Regions from separate parts of the Homo sapiens genome. Here all the other regions are linked to region 2. The links are contacts of gene promoters, found by promoter capture Hi-C in blood cells and fetal thymus (Javierre and others, 2016). All regions are on one chromosome and are shown on one strand. Each heading gives the region's core, a stretch centred on a gene start or on the middle of the fragment in contact. The rest is flanking DNA. Distances are from core to core; before and after follow the strand shown.

Evidence for each region. The method cuts DNA at HindIII sites, captures the fragments that hold promoters and counts their contacts. A CHiCAGO score of 5 or more calls a contact.
Region 1: a fragment that was not itself captured here is called in contact with the fragment with the promoter of ZNF622 in region 2 in 1 of 17 cell types (fetal thymus); the score reaches 5.6 in fetal thymus.
Region 3: a contact is called between a fragment that was not itself captured here and the fragment with the promoter of ZNF622 in region 2, in 4 of 17 cell types (non-activated CD4 T cells, naive CD8 T cells, naive CD4 T cells and 1 more). The highest score is 7.0, in non-activated CD4 T cells.

The regions. Positions count from the first base shown.
Region 1 is chr5:16,936,729-16,939,428 of GRCh38, reverse strand. No RefSeq gene overlaps it. Among named protein-coding and RNA genes, the nearest start is that of MYO10, 1.8 kb to the right of the region's middle. The HindIII fragment of the contact is 573 bases long and covers 1,090-1,662 here.
Region 2 is chr5:16,464,428-16,467,127 of GRCh38, reverse strand. ZNF622 (zinc finger protein 622) reads left to right here and starts at 1,328. Exons shown (of 6, transcript NM_033414.3): 1 at 1,328-2,087. The coding sequence starts at 1,463. RefSeq lists a silencer at 1-143 and an enhancer at 1,951-2,020. The HindIII fragment of the contact is 4,211 bases long and covers 1-2,700 here.
Region 3 is chr5:16,756,091-16,758,863 of GRCh38, reverse strand. MYO10 (myosin X) reads left to right here. Exons shown (of 41, transcript NM_012334.3): 18 at 638-746. Among named protein-coding and RNA genes, the nearest start is that of RETREG1, 140 kb to the right of the region's middle. The HindIII fragment of the contact is 223 bases long and covers 1,286-1,508 here.

The DNA.
Region 1 (2,700 bases), core at 127-2,626, 470 kb before region 2:
TAATTAAGCCATTATTCTAACAGGGGCAATTAAGGGGTGAGTGTTTAATAAAAAAAAAAGATAATGGAAAAGACTCTACGCCCCAAGACACATCAAGACAAGGAATGGCAGCAGCAGCAACAACAAAAGGAACTCAGTTTGAATTCACAAAGGAAATGAGACAACCCGTTTCAACTAAAAACGAACAAACTGTTGGTGGAGAACAAAAACAGAAGATTGTTATTACTTAACTCACAAATATACATATGCAACTCTCTCTTTCAGTGGGGAAATGATCCAATCAGTATTAAAATTTTGTTGATTGTAGATTAATGTATGCCACTAAATAAGATAACTTAACTTGAGCTTTTGGGGGTGTTTTATTTTGAAAATGTCATACTCTGTTAGCCTGGTTTATTTGAAAGACAGGTAGGACAGAGAGTTGAGACAGACCTTTGCCTCATGGAAACACACTCATCCTTCTATTATTACCATTCTTGTGCCTCTGTCGCTTCTCAGAGGGCAGGGTTTAATAGATTTGGTCTAAACTGCTTTGTCCAGTGGTTAGCACAACTCTCTCAGAGGAAGCACTCAAATTTTAAGAAATGGTAATAAGACTAGATATTCTTAGAAATCTATTGATTTAAAATGCTTCCCAGTCTCTGTCCAATCCTGTCAAAGCCCTTATAAATTTAACACGCTGCTTTTTAACAACTGATTCAACCCCAGATACTTGAGGGTTAGATATCTTATTTAGAACATGCATTTTGCTGTTCAGCAAGTAAGAGTTTCGCTGCCACAGCTTATCTTACACCTTTTTGAGAATATGGGGATATATAGAAAAGCTGATGAATTCTGATAAAGTGGCGATTCCCAAGCTCTGAACTGGTTATCGGGGTGCTTATTAAAATGCAAATTCTTTCAATATAATCCACAGGTAAAGAAATAAAAAATGCAAATTCTTAGGAAATCAATTTGCCACAGAGATTTGGAGTCAGTTTTTTTTTCTTTTTAGCAACTGATAAGGTGATCTAGGGATCAACATTGATAAAACATTGATGTAAGTTTTTTTTTTTAACTTTCTTACCCTGTTAACTGATGATGTAAGCTTTTTGAAGAAATAAAATGATTCAGTAAAATCTAAACTTTATATATTGGATCTGGCTCACCATTCTTTACGTGAGTCAAATTGGGGGCAATTATTAACGATATCTTCATAATTGGCAGGAAAATCACCTTTAAAAGATTAGTAGACTTTAAAAAAACAGTTTTAGGCTTACATAAAAATTGGCCAGAAAGTACAGAGAGTGTCCATAGACCCCTCCCAGCCCCTCACCCTCACTTGCCCCTATTATTAACATGTTGCATTAGTGTGGTACATTTGTTATAACTGATGAGCCGATATGGAAAGTGACTTTTGAAATGACATGGCGAGGTTGCCCAACGTATCAGTGGCTGGGCTGATGCTGGGAACCACGTCACACCCACACACTCACTTCAACAATCTCCCTGGTAATTTCTCTGGCAGAGATGTTGTGTGCAGATTAATACCATAATGACTGTAATTGTTCTGCTCCAGTATCTGAACACCAGTGGTTGCAGGACCCATTTGACTAAGCACTGGGATTGTTGGTATTTATCCTGACTCCATCTTCACTTTCCTTGCGACCTTGGACACAAGCTTTAATGGCTCAGCGCCTTAAGCGTGTAAACCTGTGAAACAGAACAACATTGCACAATATCATTAACTAATTTACACCTTGACTCTTTCTAAAGGGAAGTGAGGTGGGAGCAATGATATTAATGGTGAAGAACTGGACTGGGATAAGTTACAAACATGCTTGACTTTCCCCATAAGGATTACAGAAGGATGTTTCATTCATTCATTCATGCTGTGAGACAGCCTGGGGATACTCATCTTAAAGCACAGTCCTTCCCCAACAGTCTTAGGAATAAATCCTAGAGTGGGCATCTAGCCCAGTGGTTACGGGGAGCTTGGGTGGGGTGAGTGGAGTAGCATCTTTGGGAAGGGTTCCTTCCCCTGGAAGGTGTGACTTTGTGAGCTGAGTTTTAAAGGTTGAGTAGCAGTTGGCAAATTCCCTGGAGAGAGCATCTCAAATCTTTTGTGCTGAAGAACCAGCCATTTTTGTTCCCAGTCGGCCAGGTACCAATACACTGCGGCGCCAGGTGTGACTCACCACGTGAGTCTGACAACACCCAAACTGGTTTATACTCGGTTCAAAGAGTCCACTGATCATGTGCTTGGATGTCGTGGCATTATTAAATTGCTACAAACGTTTACTCTTAATTTCTCTACTTGTTACAAGCTTTCGTTCAGCACAGGACCAGGTAGCACCTGAGGGGCACCTGGAAAGCAGATTGTTCCAGCCTGCGTTCTAACAAGGTTCCCAGGTGACCCTCGCACAGCATAAAGTTAAAAGAACTGCCCTAGGGGAAACGGGACTCAGTGCCAGGTGGGTTTGATCATTCGTCCATCTCAGTGCCATCTGCCATCTCTGCTTCCTTGAGGTCTAGAAAAGGGTTACATTTTTAAAGGTGATATTGGCCACGTCCCCTTCCAGTTTCAAAACTACATTTCCCCGCTGTTACGCAAACGTCTTAAGCAAACCCGACTGCAGGACAGAAAGTCAACACGGGAATGCAGCTTCCAGAAATTCTGATTAGCCTCCGTCTTCCGCTTTGATCTGGCCCCGCAGCCCC
Region 2 (2,700 bases), core at 79-2,578:
AGGCACTGGAAGGTTTTTTAAAGCGCCATCTTCTTTTGGTTTTCTCTTGGCAGCCTGGATTCTGAGCATGCAACATTCGACTCTAACAAGGCTGACTCTGGTTCAACCAGGCTGTGTGGATGAAATCTACGACCTCCCCAAGCATTTGAAGTTCATGTTTTCTTTTTCTTTTGAGATGGAATCTTGCTCTGTTGCCCAGGCTGGAGTGCAGTGGCGCGATCTCGGCTCACCACAACCTCCGCCTCCCGGGTTCAAGCGATTCTCCTGCCTCAACCTCCCAAGTAGCTGGGATTACAGGTCTGCGCCACTGCGCCGGGACTAATTTTTGTATTTTTTAGCAGAGACTGGGTTTCGCCATGTTGGCCAGGCTGGTCTTGAACCCCTGACCTCAGATGATCCGCCCGCCTCGGCCTCGCAAAGTGCTGGGATTACGGGCGTGAGCCACCGCGCCTGGCCTGAAGTTCTTTTCTACAGAACTTTGCTGTCCTATATACATGAGGGTACACAGCCAACTGGGCACCTGGCACGGGTCTAGTCCAAATTGAGATGGGCTGTTAACTCTAAAACACACACTGGATTTCCAAGACTTAGAACCAACGACAGAGCGTAAAAGATCTAATTAATTCTTTTAGACTGATTACATGCTGAAATGACAGGATGGGCTAAATTAAACACATTAAAAGCAGTTTCACCGATTTCTCTTTACTCTTTAAAAATGTGGCTGCTATTAGAATTACCTACGTGGCTTGGACTGTGTGTCTACAGGGAGCTCCTCTCGCGCACTCTGTGCACTCAAATTCCGCCGGTGTCCTCCGCCGGAAGGGCCGCCTCAGAAAGGCCGAGCCCCCGGCCTGGCTTCTCCGGTTTCCCGGGAAAGCGTTGCAACCACGGGCGAGGGCTCCGAGGTCGGCCCCGAGGGGTAAGGGCAGCCCTTGCCTTCGCGACATCCATTCACCCGGCTCCGCAGGTGCAGCGCGCGGTCCTCAGAGAAACCCCGACCCTCGCGTCGCTGACCCGACCATTCATTAATCGGGGGCTTCCCAGGGCCCAGGAGCAGCCTCGGGCGCCCCACTCCCCCATTCTCGCGTAGCCGTCCCCTTGACCGCGTCACACCGAGCGGCACAACCACCAGGGAAGGTAACTGGGAGGGCGCGACCTCCCTCAATCAACAGCCACCTCGGGCTGACTGAGCGGACCCAGGTCCCTTTCAGCCACAGCGTTCCCTCGGCTTCCTGGGCCTCACGGCGGCGGAGGCGTGGCCACAGCCTGAGAGGCGGGTTTCCTGTCCAGTTGTGAATAACTTCCGACGTGTGCCGGAAGTTTCCTCAGTGACAATCAGGAAGTCGGCGTGTCGAGTGGCTCTTCCTGGCTGCTGAGGCGGGTTAAGGTCTGAGGGTCTTGTGGGGCCACGGCGCTGATCACCAGGTGTTTGGCTTGGTCGGTTCTTATTTCTCGCCTGGCAATGGCGACGTACACCTGCATAACTTGCCGGGTGGCGTTCCGCGACGCGGACATGCAGCGGGCCCACTATAAGACGGACTGGCACCGCTACAACCTGCGGCGGAAGGTGGCCAGCATGGCCCCAGTGACCGCCGAGGGCTTCCAGGAGCGAGTGCGGGCGCAGCGGGCCGTCGCGGAGGAGGAGAGCAAGGGCTCGGCCACCTACTGCACCGTTTGCAGTAAGAAGTTTGCCTCTTTCAACGCCTACGAGAACCACCTCAAGTCCCGGCGTCACGTTGAGCTGGAGAAGAAGGCCGTGCAGGCAGTGAATCGGAAAGTGGAGATGATGAATGAAAAGAACTTGGAGAAAGGACTGGGCGTGGACAGTGTGGACAAGGATGCCATGAACGCGGCCATCCAGCAGGCCATCAAGGCCCAGCCGTCCATGTCTCCCAAGAAGGCGCCCCCAGCGCCTGCAAAGGAGGCCAGGAATGTCGTGGCCGTGGGTACTGGTGGCCGTGGGACCCACGACCGAGACCCGAGTGAGAAACCACCCCGGCTCCAGTGGTTTGAACAGCAGGCGAAGAAGTTGGCAAAGCAGCAGGAGGAGGACAGCGAGGAGGAGGAAGAGGACCTGGATGGAGACGGTGATGGCCCTGTCTGGGCGGGGAGGGTAAAGAGGAACTTGGCCCACCCTTAAGTTTCCAGATTTATACTCGAGATGGGTGTGTGTGTGTGTTTGAGAGCTTTTAAGTAAAAATGATGAGGGAAGGTGGTTTAGACGCTTTCTGAAGTGCCTTATCTGGCCAGCAGGTTTGGCTGTTTAGTTCACTCAATTCATTCTCCAAGGCCTAAAACCTTGTCTGGAAAAAGAAGTGCTTAATGCATATTTGGAGAATGAATTGATGCCTTCTGTGTTTTGGATGAAGAGGCTTTTAACATATGCACAGGAGGACATGCTATCGTCATACCAGCTGCCGTGTAATTTGCGATTCTAGTGGGTTTCCAGTTATGATGGTTTTGCACTTAATTTAGTTGAGTAAAACAGAATGAGGGGATCAAAACCAACTCAGCCAGAAATTTGGAGCTGGAGCCAGCACCCTCACCTCTTTGCCTTTATGAGCTATTTATTCCTTACTTCCCTCATCCCACATCCTATTAACAGTGCTGGTGTAGGTGTTCATGTCTTAGTCTGTCCACTCTGCTATAAGGAAGTACTAGAGACTGGGTGATTTATGAACAACATAAATGTATTTTCCC
Region 3 (2,773 bases), core at 148-2,647, 290 kb before region 2:
TAATAACTAATATCAATATATATGATATGCCAGGTAGCATGCTTTCTGCCTTTTACATGCATGTTCTCCTTTCATTCTCACCTGGCATTAGGGGATAAATTAAAAAATTATCTCCATTTTCCAGATGAAAAAACTGAGGCTTAGAGAGAGATGAAACATCTTGCCCAAGCAACACAGCTGGGAAGTGGGGAGACAGGATTTGAACCATCGCCTGCCTCACCCTGTAATTAGTGTTCCCCAGGAGCACCTTTCCATCCGTTAACTGCTTCAATCTTTGCAACACTGCAAGATGGCAAAACTAATAACTCACTTTTGCAAGTGAGGAGACCGAGGCTACAGAGGCTTAGATGGCATTCCAGAAAGCACAGAGCTCCTAAGTGGGATTCCACCCTTTGTCACTGTCATGCCAGTCCCCTTCTCTGCAAGACTCTGGTCTCTGACACTGCCACGTGTTTTCAGTGCCTAAAGCTCTTTGGCAGTGTTTGGTTTGAAATCTTTGGAAGCTGTCTTAGTTCTTCCAGGCCTAGGGTGTATTACTTTGAATTATCATTGAGAAAGGGCACCATTAATTACAATAATCTTGCACCTAATAATGGGTGTGTGTGCCTCACTGACCTCCTGCTCTTGCCTCACACAGATTTGACTTTATCTACGATCTTTTTGAACATGTTTCAAGCCGCAACAACCAGGATACCTTGAAATGTGGAAGCAAACATCGGCGGCCTACAGTCAGCTCACAGTTCAAGGTTCGTTTTCACTGCTGGCTTAGAGGAATCCGTCGTTACTGTATTTTTAAGAACTGAAAAGAGGATTTGGGTGTATGTGAAGTCTATGAGAATATTTGTTTATTTTTGTTTCCTTTTATATCATGCTTTTAAACCAGATAGTGCTTTAGAAATAAAATAGAGTTTTGGCTCACGCCTGTATTCTCAGCACTTTGGGAGGCCGAGGTGGGCAGATCACCTGAGCTCAGGGGTTCAAAACCAGCCGGGGCAACATGGTGAAATCCTGTCTCTACAAAAAATACAGAAATTATCTGGGTGCGGTGGCGCATGCCTGTAGTCCCAGCTACTCAGGAGGCTGAGGTGGGAGGATTGCCTGAGCCTGGGAGATCAAGATTGCAGAGAGCTGTGATTGCACCACTGCACTCCAGCCTGGGTGACAGCGTAAGACCTAGACTCTGTCTAAAAAAAGAGAGAAAAGAAATAAAATAGACTTTTTCTCTGAGTCAGATGAAAACATGTAGATCCTTTTTAAAAAAATAAATGGCTATTTCTTCTAAGCTTTTGAAATAGCAAACTCCTTAAGGCCATTTGGGACCACTCTGATTTGTATTTAGAGACTCATGTGGAAATGGGATATATTTCTTCTCATATCTGGATGTTTTTTCCCCCTGGTTAGATGAGACTGATGTCAGTTACCTTGTCCTAGGCTCTTAATCTTCCAGCAGAGGTTTTCAGTTTTCTTTTTCTAGAAGGTCGGTTTGCCAGGACTTCTCTGAGAAAGCTTTTTTTTTTTCCGTGTGTGTGTGTGTGTGTGTGTGTGTGCGTGTGTGTGTGTGTTTGTGTGTGTGTGAGACAGGGTCTTGTTCTGTCACCCAGACTGGAGTGCAGTGGTGTAATCACGCCTCACTGCAGCCTCAAACTCCCAGGCGCAAGTGATTCTCCCCCCTCAGCCTCCTGAGTAGCTGGCACTACAGGTGTAAGCCACTACACCCGACTTTTTTTTTTTTTTTTTTTTTTTTAAAGGCAGAGTCTCGCTCTGTCACCCAGGCTGGAATGCAATGGCACGATCTCAGCTCACTGCAACCTCTACCTCCCAGATTCAAGAGATTCTTCTGCCTCAGCCTCCCAAGTAGCTGGGACTAGAGGCATGCGCCATTACGCATGGCTAATTTTTCATACCCGGCTAATTTTTAGATGTTTTACTGAGATGGGGTCTTATTATGTTGCCCAGGCTGATCTCAAAATTCTGGCCTCCAGCGATCCTCCTGCCTCAGCCTCCCAAAGTGCTGGAATTACAGACGTGAGCCACTGCACCCACCCTTGGGTTTTTGAAATGTTTGAGACTTTAAACTGGACTAGCAGTGAAGGAAATGGAAAAGGGTGGGTGAGCTTTCCAGGTGCAGGCGAAGGCAGGAGAAGAGCCCAGACACAGAGATGCAAGTCCTGTCTCTGAGGACTGTCAACAGACAGTAGAACACCAGCCGGACAGGACACCTCGTGAGAATTTAAGATGGTATCAAAATATGAAGGGCCGTGAATGTCAGGATGTTTTGTCTTGTGAGAAATTTTAAAGTTTTCTGAGCTGGAGAAGTAATTAATCCATGTAGTGTTCAGACAGTTCAGTTTTCTTCAACAAGATTATGAGAAGAAAAAAGAGACAGATGGAGGGAAAGCCAGTGGATTAAAAGAGACTGAAAAGATGCATCCACCAATTACAATGAATGGACCATATTTGCATTTTGATGCAAAAGAACAAACCCTTTAAAATTTATGGGCTGGGCATGGTGACACATGCCTGTAATCCCAGCACTTTAGGAGGCCTAGGTGGAAAGATTGCTTGAGTCGAGGAGTTCGAGACCAGCCTGGGCAACATAGCGAGGCCTCATCTCTACAAAAAAAATTAAAAAGTTATTCGGCATGCCCTTGTATTCCCAGCTACTCAGGAGGCTGAGGTAGGAGGATCACTTGAGTCTGGAAGGTTGAAGCTGCCGTGAGCTGTGATCACACCACTGTACTCCAGCCTGGGTGGCAGAATGAGACCCTGTCTC